4 separate regions of the Homo sapiens genome follow, and regions 2, 3 and 4 are each linked to region 1. The links are contacts of gene promoters, found by promoter capture Hi-C in blood cells and fetal thymus (Javierre and others, 2016). All regions are on one chromosome and are shown on one strand. The core of a region is centred on a gene start or on the middle of the fragment in contact, and the rest is flanking DNA. Distances in the headings are between cores, read along the strand shown. Region 1 holds the start of PDIA4 (protein disulfide isomerase family A member 4). Region 2 has its middle 7.8 kb from the start of TRC-GCA9-3. Region 3 has its middle 100 kb from the start of C7orf33. Region 4 has its middle 85 kb from the start of C7orf33.

What was found. Contacts are between HindIII fragments. The CHiCAGO score rates a contact against its expected background, and 5 or more counts as called.
Region 2: a fragment that was not itself captured here is called in contact with the fragment with the promoter of PDIA4 in region 1 in 1 of 17 cell types (neutrophils); the score reaches 5.3 in neutrophils.
Region 3: a fragment that was not itself captured here is called in contact with the fragment with the promoter of PDIA4 in region 1 in 1 of 17 cell types (activated CD4 T cells); the score reaches 5.7 in activated CD4 T cells.
Region 4: a fragment that was not itself captured here is called in contact with the fragment with the promoter of PDIA4 in region 1 in 9 of 17 cell types (activated CD4 T cells, naive CD8 T cells, naive CD4 T cells and 6 more); the score reaches 13.1 in activated CD4 T cells.

Annotation. Positions count from the first base shown.
Region 1 is chr7:149,027,065-149,030,104 of GRCh38, forward strand. PDIA4 (protein disulfide isomerase family A member 4) reads right to left here and starts at 1,441. Exons shown (of 10, transcript NM_004911.5): 1 at 1,257-1,441. The coding sequence starts at 1,344. RefSeq lists enhancers at 561-1,155, 1,156-1,749 and silencers at 1,074-1,123, 1,214-1,283, 1,354-1,933. The HindIII fragment of the contact is 15,108 bases long and covers 1-2,315 here.
Region 2 is chr7:149,626,415-149,629,454 of GRCh38, forward strand. No RefSeq gene overlaps it. Among named protein-coding and RNA genes, the nearest start is that of TRC-GCA9-3, 7.8 kb to the right of the region's middle. The HindIII fragment of the contact is 2,952 bases long and covers 1-2,898 here.
Region 3 is chr7:148,485,781-148,488,820 of GRCh38, forward strand. No RefSeq gene overlaps it. Among named protein-coding and RNA genes, the nearest start is that of C7orf33, 100 kb to the right of the region's middle. The HindIII fragment of the contact is 380 bases long and covers 1,323-1,702 here.
Region 4 is chr7:148,504,689-148,507,728 of GRCh38, forward strand. No RefSeq gene overlaps it. Among named protein-coding and RNA genes, the nearest start is that of C7orf33, 85 kb to the right of the region's middle. The HindIII fragment of the contact is 6,358 bases long and covers 1-3,040 here.

The sequences.
Region 1 (3,040 bases), core at 191-2,690:
GCATCTTCCACCCACACTGGTCCTCAACTTTCACTGTGCCTCCCGAAGTTAATTCTATGTCTCAAGGGAAAACTGACTTAAAACGCAGATTCCGGGGCCCACCCCTGCATTCTGCTTCAGTGTATTTTGGGTATCTGTATTTAAATAAACACTATTTAAACAAACATGATTTGGGTAAAGGTCTCAAGACACAATTTGTAAGCAGTCCCGCTATCGGATTCCTTTCGGCAGGTGTTTTTCTCGCCGAGTGTGGGTTTTTACTTCCTTTTCTATTTGGGCAAAGACTCTTTTTGAATCAGTGACCCACGCAGAAGTTACTCAATCTGTTTGAAAGAGTATAAAGTTCACGATTTCCCTACACACTAACATTATCAAAGAGTGTATATTTATATTAGAACAAACTCAGAAGGTTAAAAAGCTAGTGATTAAAAGTAAGGGCAGAGAGGAAGAAGGTAAAGACCAGTACCTGGATGCCTTATTCTCTAGGAATAACAACTTTTCCTTAATTAGCACTTCCTAATCTTCAGAGTTCTTATGTCTGCAGCTAGCTCACTTCGAAGAAAAATGCAGGGACCATGAAGTAGTTGTTACTATTCCTACTGGAGTACGCGCTTCATGGGCAGGGACCACACTCACAATCTTTTCCTCCCAGAACCCAGTACAGGGACTGGCACACAGTAAATGCTAAATGCAGAAGGAATGGTATCTCTAGTTTCTCAAAGGTGCAAACCAAGCCATCCCTTTCTCCAGAATCTATGGATTAATCATTTCCAAATCTACAGACCACATTTTGAAAAGGAATGCTTGCTGTTCCAAAGAACTCGCACTTGTTTCTTCACGCCCTCGCCCCTTCTCTCCAGTGGCTCTCCCTCTCCCTTCCCACTGCCTGGGCGCGTTCGCCTGGAGTTAGCCTGGACCTGACGAAAATCTGTAAATTAAGGCGAAGGACCCAGCTGCAAAAAAGGCGCTCTGCAGCCCTCTCCCAGCCTCGGGTGACAGGGGTCTTCCAGGGCGTCGGAGCCCAAGAGACCCCGGCCACCTTCCTCTCCCGGGAACCCCAAATCGATCCTGCCACTGCCACAGCCACCGCCCCCGCCCCTTCAACTCCGCCAAGTTTACCCCGGGCTCGGCGCCCATCACTAGTTCTGGAGCTGACCGCGCGGAAGCCCGCCCGCCGGGGTCGCAGGGCCCAGGCCCCCGCACAGCTCTGCAGCCCCCGCAAGCACAGCCCGACCCGCGGCGCGCTTGCCGCTCACCCTCGTCCGGGCCCTCGGCACCCGCCACGGCCAGCAGCTGCACCAGCCCCAAGAGCAGCAGGAGCAGGAAGGCTTTCCGGGGCCTCATGGTAGCGGGGGCGGAGCGCGGCCTCCTAGCGTCGGCGGCCGCTGAGCGCACCGAGAACTCGGGGTCTGGCCGACAGCCCGTCGCTCCTTAGCGACGCGGGGGAGCCGGAAAAACCCACGGAAGTCGTCCCCGGCGATTGGCAGGGGGCGGAGGAAGTCGCGGGCCGGCCAATCCCAGACTGACGCCGGCACGGACCGCGCGCGCCTCGGCCGCGACGAGTCGGCTCCGCCGCCCTAGGCCCTCCCTACTCCTGCGCGCGGCCCTCGGCTGCGCGTTTAAAACTCCGAGCCCTAACGTGAGGTGCCCCCTTCTGATTGGCTGCGCCACAACCACCAATCAGCGGCTGCCACTCGGTTTGCCGGGAGCGCACAGGCCAAGAGGGAGAGCGGGGGAGAACAAAGGCGGCGGGCCGGGCACGGGGAGTGCGGGACCTGGCTACGCCTCGGGGCGCTATTGGCAATCGGTGCCGGGGGCGGGGCAGGAGAGGCGGAGCCTGGGAAATGTGGAGCGGGGCGGGGCTCGGCTCAGCATCCTGCGGCCGAACTTGGCAGTAAGAACACGTGTCGGTACCGGAGCGGTGGGGAGCAGTGGCGAGCAGGGCGGTCCTCGCAACCCGCCGGGGCTCTGGGAAGCTGGAGACCAACGCGGGCGGAGGAGCACGAGCCTGTTTGTTGCTAGAAAGGGGCTCCAAGTCCGCTGCATGTTCGTGGCCTTCTTAATTTCTTTTTCTGCTCGAGCAAATAAAAGTTTCATTTCTCTCCGGAGTATTGAGCTAGAGAGCGGGGAAGAGCATGCAGTAAAGTGAATCCAGACTAGAATCTGGGGAAGCCTCTCTCCAAGGTTGCATCTCGGAGAAACAAGCCATCAGATTCTTGTCTAAACTTTGCCTCGTCTTATTTAGTTTTCTAGTGATTTTCTGCAAAAGGAAATACCAGATAGGCAATCTAGTGGTTTACATAGATCTGAATAAAAGCTTGAGGTTTTCCCTCTTGACCACTTTGGAGAAGAAAACTAGGTTAAGATGACGATTTTTGTATGTCAGAAAAGAAGCCTGTAATGTGCATTAAGTTTGAGACTTTTTTTTAACACCTGGGAGTTTGAGAAGGCAAATAGGGAAAAGAAAAAAAATAGAAACTCAAGTTCAGGAATATTTTCTCGTGTGTGCAGATTATTACGTGAGGAAGAAAAAAGGGATAACTCACAGACCTTAGCAATTAAAAATACTTAATTTTTTTGTTGAATGCCTATTAATCTGATGGTTCCTGGTCAATTTTGTAGGGCAGAACATTATGCAACTGTACACACTGATTTATTAGAGTGCTATGAATGTGGGCCACCAGACAGTTCGGTATCATGTTATTTTATTTTTTGAGACAAGAGTCTTGCTCTGTCACCCAAGCTGGAATGCAGTGGCGCCATCTCCTCTCACTGCAACCTCCGCCTCCTGGGTTCAAGTGATTCTACTGTCTCAGCCTCCCGGGTAGGTGGGACCACAGGCGCCCGCCACCACTCCCTGCTAATTTTTATATTTTTAGTAGAGACAGGGTTTCACCACGTTGGCCTGGCTGGTCTCAAACTCCTGACCGACCTCAAGTGATCCACCCACCTCGGCCTCCCAAAGTGCTGGGATTACAGGTGTGAGCCACCGTGCCCAGCCTTAATATCATGTTAAAGATAGACCTGTTCTTCAAAAAGA
Region 2 (3,040 bases), core at 173-2,672, 600 kb after region 1:
TTGTCTAGGCTGGGACATGTGCACCACGGAGATTGTAGGGGGAACTGGGAATCAGGAGACCTGTCAGTTCTGTCATTAACCAGTCGAGACCCTTGGGCAAGTCAGTCAGCCCTTGCCTCACATGTAAAGTGAGGAGATTGGAGTAGATCATTCTGCAAATGTCCCTGAGTCCAGCCTTCCTTTCACCACTTGATACGGGACCCAGTAGAAGACCACCGCTTCCTCTCTCACTGTGGCCTTTTTGCGGGTCACCCTGCATGATAATTTACCTCTATTATCAAGACAACAATGTGTTGGCAAGTCCCTGCCATGTTGCCTGGAAGAGCTACTCCCGGATTACCTTGGAAAAGGGCCTTATTCCTGTTTGAGGAGACAGAGGTGTCATCTCCATGGCAATATGGCCCCTAGGGGAACTAGTGCTTTCATGGTGTGTCCCATGGTGTGTGCTGGAGGATGTGAGCAGTGGGGCAAAGTGCGGTCTGGACTTAAGTGACCATCTGTGTGTCCCTTGAAGGAATTTAACATCATAGAAATCACTGTGGAATTCAGTGTTTCCCAGGTCCTCGGACCAGAAGTGGAGAGGAGTGGCTGGCTTTGCTGCCTTCTGAGAAGGCTGCCAGGGCTACAAGGCAAAAGGCCTGTGGGTAAAGGAGAAAATTCCAGTAGAAGGAAAAGACAGTTCACAGGAAGGGACAGTTTACCAGCTCCTGTGACAAGAGAAGAGGCGGGGCCTTGGCACAGCTGAGGAGGTGAAAACGAGCTTACCCAAGTGTTACTCCACGTGTTCCTTCTAAGAGGGACAGGGCTCTGCTTGCCATCGGAAAGGTCACGTGGGAGGCTGGACGCAGTGGCTCATCCCAGAGCTTTGGGAGGCCAAGGCAGGAGGATCGCTTGAGGCCCCGAGTTTCAGACCAGCCTGGGCAACATAGTGAGACGTCTGCTCTACAAAAAAATAAAAATAAAAAGTATTAACTGGGTATGGTGGCACACACCTGTGGTCCCAGTTAGTTGAGAGGCTGAGGCGGGAGGCTTGCTTGAGCCCAAGAGTTGGAGGCTGCAGTGAGCTATAATTGTTTCACTGCACTCCAGCCTGGGTAACAGTAGAATACCCTGCCGCTTAAAAAACAATGAAAGAGTCAAGTGGGGTTGTTCTCCTGCAACATTTTTTGGTCCTTGAAACTAGGTTAACATTGGTCCTTTTAAGGCTTTTGGGGATTCCAAAATCTACTCAGCTACCACCTTCTCACTATTTCTTGGAGTTGCTTCTTCTCCATCATTCTCCATGTATATTAACTGAAGAAGTAGAGCTGGAAGAATCATCTTTTGTCGTAGATTGCAGTTGTGTTGAAAGTGCCCTGAATGGAATACTGGGCCAGGAGAGCCAGACGCAACTCTGTCATTAAGTGTGTTAGAAAAGACACCTCAGTCACATGGAGTTTCTTTTGTAGGTGCCCACCGTGACAGGCACTAGAGGTTGACTCTGAAGGTCATTCTAGCAGTGCTTTTCCAGGCTGCTGCCCCAACCCAGGGACTCACGGCAGGGAAGACACAGGATCCGGGGTACCTGAGGAGGAGACACTGCCTCTTGTTATGCACAAGGTCAATGAGTTCTCACTCAGGCGGGTCTGGCAGCTCCTATGAGCTTCTATTTTGAAGTGGCAACTCATAGGTTCCTGGTAATCTGGGTATGGCTATAAAAGTCAAAGATATTAACTAACCCACACAATAGCAGGACACAGTATAGCTCAGGGGTAGAGTATTGGACTGCAGATCCAACAGGACACCAGTTCAAATACAGATAACCCCTCTGGCTTTTCAATTTTGACATTTTAAATAGGTGCCTACATTTTAACTTCTTTTCTATTAGACACTAGGGTAAAGATTTCATTTTTTCTGGAACCAGCAAATGGTGAGGGTAGAATGTGGTGGTTTTATACATTTTAGGGAGACATGAGACATCAGTCAATATGTGTAAGATGTACATTGGTTAGTTCTGGAAATGTGGGACAACTTGAGGTGAAGGCAGGACAACTGAAAGCAAGGAGGGGGCTTCCAGGTCACAGGTATATAAGAGACAAATGGTTGCATTCTTTTGAGTTTCTGATGAGCCTCTCCAAAGGAGGCAATCAGATATGCACTTATCTCAGTGAGCAGAGGGGTGACTTTGAATAAAATGGGAGGCAGCTTTGCCCTAAGCAGTTCCCAGCTTGACTTTTCCCTTCAGGTTAGTGATTTGGGGGCCCCAAGATTTATTTTCCTTTCACATTTAAGTGTACAGTACTTGAAACTGGACCTGGGGCTGGGTGCGTTGGCTCACACCTGTAATCCCAGCACTTTGGGAAGCCAAGGTGGGCGGATCACGAGGTCAAGAGTTCGAGACCAGCCTGGACAACATGGTGAAACCCCATCTCTACTAAGAATACAAAAATTAGCCGGGCGTGGTGGCACGTGCCTGTAATGCCAGGTACCGTGGAGGCTGAGCAGGAGCATCTCTTGAATCTGGGAGGCAGAGGTTGCAGTGAGGTGGAGGTTGCAGTGAACCAAGATTGCGCCATTGCACTCCAGCCTGGGCAACAGAGCGTGACTCCGTCTTGGAGAGAAAAAAAACAAACAAACAAAAACTGGACCAGAACAGCATCTTCCAGGAACAAAGGCTGTTTCAGCATTTCCTAGTTGTCTTAATTTGTCCCCTTTTTCATCCAGGCATTCCCCCTGGGATGGGGTGGTATTGGTCTTCTAATTCCAAACAAACCACGAGGATTTATAGCTCAGTGAGTGAGCCCATATAAGGCCAAGAGAGTCTGCAGAGGATGAAATGTCAACAGGTTAAAATATAAGTAAAGTTCCATGTTGTGTTTAAGTTTTGTAACTATCAAAAGCAATTTTATGTCATATTTAAGCTTTAAAAGCAAACTTCTGCAGAAGGGATTATTGAATTATATCAACCATCTCAAAAGCTAAAGGATGTGATGGCATTCTATGCTTTGGAGAACAAACAGCTTTTTTGGTACAAAATGTCAAAATTCATGGAGGTTCAGCT
Region 3 (3,040 bases), core at 263-2,762, 540 kb before region 1:
GTCAGCTAAAAATGTTCCCGGATTTGAACATAAATCTCTCCTTTATGTTATAAAAATGGTAGGTGAAGCAAAGGATAAACATGGGGCAGCTCTTTGCAGTGAAATGCAATAAAATCTTCTAGATAACCACAGAGGCGCTAAGGATTTAGTGCTCCTGGAACCAGAGAGGGTGTGACTGCCTTGTTTTATAGCCGTATATTCATTACAGATGGCTAAAGGAGAGGAAAAATTAAAAGGAGGACGCAAAGTTGCCCTTGTTGCAAGCAAACTGCCTCTGTTTTTCTTAAATTGTTATGGATTGCCGAAGCTGGAAGAAAACCTGCGTAGTTCCGGGTGCCAGCTCCTGGTCTGGTAGAAAGTTATTCTGACAAGCCATGGTGTGCACCTATATGTGTTTGGATAAGAGCACTGGGGGACCCCCATCCACACACTAAAGGAGGTTTAAGAAACTCAGGCCATGAACGGCTAAAGCACAGGGCTTGGTTTCAGAGAGCCAGAGAAGGTTAGAGCTAGAAAGAAGTTGTTTTACAGATGGGGAAACTGAGTCCTGAAGAGGATGCTTAACTTGCCCAAGGTCACGTGTCTAGTAGACCACTGGAAACTCTCTTGATACCTGGAGCCCTTCAATAAATGGGCAGGTAAACTGGTCTAATCTTTCTGGAAAGCAACTCGGAAATTGATCATATGCTTAGAGCCAGGACTTCCTGCCCATACTGACTTTTTTTTTTTTTTTTTTTTTTTTTTTTTGAGACAGAGTCTCAGTCTGTCGCCCAGGCTGGAGTGCAGTGGCGCCATCTCCGCTCAATGCAAGCTCCGCCTCCCGGGTGCACGTCATTCTCCAGCCTCAGCCTCCCAAGTAGCTGGGACTACAGGCACCCGCCACCACGCCTAGCTAATTTTTTGTATTTTTAGTAGAGACGGGATTTCACCGTCTTAGCCAGGATGGTCTCAATCTCCTGACCTTGTGATCCGCCCACCTCGGCCTCCCAAAGTGCTGGCATTACAGGGGTGAGCCACCGCGCCTGGCCACCATACTGACTTTCAAGCTGCAGAAGTGGGGCCTTTCCCTAGCCTTGCGCTTTGGAGAGCCCCTCCCTTCCCACCCTGCCGCGGGTGTCATCTCCCCACCAGGCAAGGAGTAGGAAGAGATCAGGGAACATGCCCATGCCTCACCAATCCCCCTAGATCACACTCCAGCTTCCTGGAACTCTGGAATTCCCTGCCCAAGCAGTCCTAAGCCAGCTTCCAGGACCTGAGCATATCACCCAAAGGGTAGCAAGGCGTGAAGGTTTATGGGAAGGGAAAGTGTGGTCAGCCCTAGAAGCTTCAGTGTGCAGGCTGAGGTGCCAACACGCATGCGCACAAGCCCCCTCCCAGTGAGAGACAAAGCTGGGGGTGGGAAGAGGAGGCGGTCAGGCCCCGGGTCAGTGCCTGGGGTCCGTTCTCCCCACGCCAGCATGTTCCATTACAGAACTCCAAGGAACCTACAAATTCTAAATTCAAACCTTGTATTTCAGGCCATTTTGAAGGTATATTTGTCAAGGTAGATGGCTAGAATATATCTTATATAAATTATCAATTTGTTTGCTTGATTTATAACTTAAATATCTAGACACATTTTTACTTTTGCTCTGAGCTCAGCAAATCAGGAATAGACTGATTTTTCTCAATACTCAAAAGACATAATCAGAAATGCAAACAAAGCTTTATGCACAAAGATATTTAAAGTATATTTTATAAGAGCCAAGAATATGTATCATCTTAAAAGTCCAATATTAAGTGAAGTATTAACTAAATTATATTATACCCTAGATGTAAGATCTCTCAAAGATTTTAGGCTTGAATGATTGGAGATGGAGGAAGAACAAGTTGCAGGAGACGGTGAGGAGTTGCAAACCAAGAGTTCCATTGTGGACATATTATGTTTGAGATGCCTGCAGGCAAGCAGGTGGTTGGTTATACAAATCAAGAACACAGGGCTAGAAATATAAATTTGAGATTCACATAAATAGAATTATCATGTATATATGATCATATCAATATGATTACATCTATATATAAAACCATTGGAATCATATATGATCATATGGATAGATGTAATATCTATTGGTTGGTTTAAGCCACTCTACTGAGAGCCGTAGGGCAATGCCTATGGCGAGAGGGGAAAACACTTCTCTTTCTGAAGCCATCAGGCCTCTTCCTCAGAACACTTGCTTCCTTTCAACCACATCCAGCCTTGTTCCATTAAGGCCCCTTCTGGCTCCCTCTCTTTTACCATAGACTTGAGTGTTTCAGGCCTATTGATGCACTACAGCATTCCGCATGAGCTTTGGAAAAGAGCCAGTAATGGATTAACCCTTTCTACAGCTGAAGTTCAAAGTGCTCCCCCAAGACGGAAGCAGTGAAAGAGAAGGTGGACCACAAACTGCACCCTCCTCCCTCCCCAGGAATCTCACTAAGCTCCAGAAAGAGCTGCAGGTGTCCAAATCAGCAGTGGGTCTCACTGCAATGTGAGTGCATCCATCTTTTTGCTGTTGGGCCCTCAGTGTGGATAAAGAGAAAAAACAAGAGGAAATGTCCTTCAGGGTCGGTTTCATCCTGGACACAGGATAAAGTGGGACACAGGGCCACGTTCCTCTCTTCTACAGGATTCAAACACTCAGCAACACTGCAGTCAAGGGCAAATACATGCATACATGGTTAAATAATTCTGTTTTGCTTCAGGGGGAATTTTGTTGTTTTTTTGTTGTTGTTGTTTTTTGAGATGGAGTCTGGCTCTGTTGTCCAGGCTGGAGTGCAGTGGCACGATCTCGGCTCACTGCAAGCTCCGCCTCCTGGGTTCACGCCATTCTCCTGCCTCAGCCTCCTAAGTAGCTGGGACTACAGGTGCCTGCCATCACACCTGGCTAATTTTTCTATTTCTAGTAGAGACGGGGTTTCACCATGTTAGCCAGGATGGTCTCGATTTCCTGACCTTGTGATCCACCTGTCTCAGCCTCCCAAAGTGCTGGGATTACAGGCGTGAGCCACCGTGCCCGGC
Region 4 (3,040 bases), core at 360-2,859, 520 kb before region 1:
ATATGCTAATTTGATTGTAATCATTTTACAATATCTATCAAATCATCACATTGTACACTTTAGAATATATAAAATTGTTATTCGTCAATTATACGTCAGTGAAGCTGAAATATATGTAAGTATAAAATATATATAATATGCATATATCATTCACTTGGCAGAGTTACAGTAATGGTTGGGAATAATGACTTTAAAGCACCTCCCACATTCAACAGTTGTCAGATCATTCTTTATAGCTGTTACATCTGTGTCACTTTGGGAAAGTCACTTCACCTCTCAGAGTCTCAGACTCTTCGTCTGTGAAATAGAGACAGTTCTCACCACTCTCGGTCTTCAAGCCATGACTCCTACATTTTATCTTTCTTCCTTCCCTGATTTGTTTTTCTCAATAGCTCTTAATGCCACCAGACATAATTTTGATTCATTTGTTTGTTTATTGAACATTTCAGCATACAAAAATGCAAGTGCCATGAGGGAGGGCTTACCCTCCATCTGGTTCACTGCTGTGGCCCAGCATCCAGGACAGGGCCAGCATACAGCAGGCACGTATAAATATCTGTGCCAGGAATGAATGAATAGCACTACCTCAGACAGTTGCTGCAGACTTAGATAAGCATACTTTAAAAGAGTTTAGCACAACATCTGGCCCACAGTAGACATTCAGTGAGCCGTAGTAGTTAGTATGATTACCTGTGTGTCTTTTTTTTTTTTTTTTTTGAGACGGAGTCTCGCTCTGTTGCCCAGGCTGGAGTGCAGTGGTACAATCTCGGCTCACTGCAACCTCTGCCTCCTGGGTTCAAGCGATTGTCCTGCCTCAGCTTCCTGAATAGCTGGGATTACAGGTGCCCGTCACCACACCTGGCTACTTTTTGTATTTTTAGAATGTTGGCCAGGCTGGTCTTGAACTCCTGACCTCCGGTGATCCACTCACCTCAGCCTCCCGAAGTGCTGGGATTACAGGCGTGAGCCACTGTGCCCAGCTATGATTGCTTATATGTCTTTGTGCATGCAAGTGTAGAATCTCTCAAAACCCCAGTTACTGTATTTCCAAGTGGAACACAGGTTTGCTATCCAGATCAATTGAGAAGACATGTGCAACTCTTAGCTCAATACCTGGCACACGTCCGTCTATCAAGGCTCTGGTAACAGAATCAAGGCTGTGGAAGTTGGCAGCACTCACTTTTCCTACGTGAGGAGCTCACAGAATACACTGTCTTCGTTTCCCAGGTCTGCAGAAACAAATTACCACAAATGTGCTGACTTGAATCCACAGAAATTCATTCTCTCACAATTCTGGAGATCAGAAGTCTGCAATCAGGATGTTGGCAGGGCCACAGCCCCTTCAAAGCTACTAGGGGAGGCTGCACTTCCTTGCCTCTTCTGGCTTCTGGTGGCTCCAGGCATTCCTGGACCTGGGCAGCATCACTCTAATCTCTGCCTCCATCTTCACATGACCTTCTGTGTCTCTTCTCGTTGTGTCTCCTATGATAATTGTCATTGGATTGAAGACCCACCCTTATAATCCAGGATGATCTCATCTCGAGAACCTTAATTGAATTGCATTTGCAAAAACTGTATCCAAATAAGGTCACATTCTCTGTCTCAGAGACAGAGACACAGACTGGGACTCTAACTTCTGCCTTCACCAAGGTCTCTGACCTACAAATAGGCTGCATTCCAAAGGACTGTTTGTCACTCAAAATGTGTTTTCCCAAAGAAACAATGCCATAAATGGAGGCTAAGTTCTCAGGCACATCAATCTACAATAGTTTGTATGACCGTCATACAGATAAAATTGCATACAAGTGAATTTCTAAATCATAGTGAATATCGGCCTGGCGCGGTGGCTCACGCCTGTAACCCCAGCACTTTGGGAGGCCGAGGCAGGCGGATCACCTGAGGTCGGGAGTTCGAGACCAGCCTGACCAACATGGAGAAACCCCATCTCTACTAAAAATACAAAAAATTAGCCGGATGTGGTGACGCACGCCTGTAATCCCAGCTACTTGGGAGGCTGAGGCAGGAGAATCGCTTGAACCTGGGAGGCGGAGATTGTGGTGAGCCGAGATCACGCCATTGCACTCCAGCCTGGCAACAAGAGTGAAACTCCATCTCAAAAAAAAAAACAAAACACAGTGAATATCATCACATCTAATAATTAATATTAAAAATCATAAAGTTAAATAGATCATTTTGTGTCTTAAATACTAGTCCACACTTACTTAGAGGGAGATAAGGAGGCAGATGAAATTTTTGATGGAGATGCTAAGGGGCTTCAAAGGATGAGGTCGTGATCTTTGTTTCATTTAATTTCCTATTTTAGGAGTTTCTTTTTTTTAGTGAGGCTTTATGACTAGTGGCACTCTTACACCTGCAAGCTGGTTATGAATCAAGTTGGCAGAAGGAAGAAACAAGGAGAGATTTTTCTGAAACAACCCATTAAATTCCCCTATGCAAAACATTAGCCTATAAAGATTCTTAAATTTTCTGCCTAGACAATGATATCAATTGCTCATAATGACAGTTCTGTTACTTCCTTTTTGACTCTTACATGTTTCATTTCATCTTTCTGTTTTACTGGGCTTGGTAGGCCCCTCGGTACAGTGATGATGTAAATACCCTTTTTTTTCTTTTTGAGACTGAGTTTCGCTCTGTCGCCCAGGCTGGAATGCAGTGGTGCGATCTCAGCTCACTGCAACCTCTGCCTTCTGAGTTCAAGCAATTCTCCTGCCTCAGCCTCCCAAGTAACTGGGCTTACAGGCACATGCCACCATGCCCGGCTAATTTGGAATTTTTAGTAGAGACGGGGTTTCACCATGTTGGCTGGTCTCAAACTCCTGACCTCAAGTGATCCGCCCACCCCAGCCTCCCAAAGTGCTGGGATTGCAGGCATGAGCCACCATGCCCAGCCGTGAATACCCTATCTTGATCCTGATTTTAAAGGAGATACTTTTAACGTTACGTCAGTAACTATGAAGTTTGCTGTCTTTTTGTTTGTTTTTGTCAATGCCTTTCATCATAATAAAGAATTTCTCCTAAA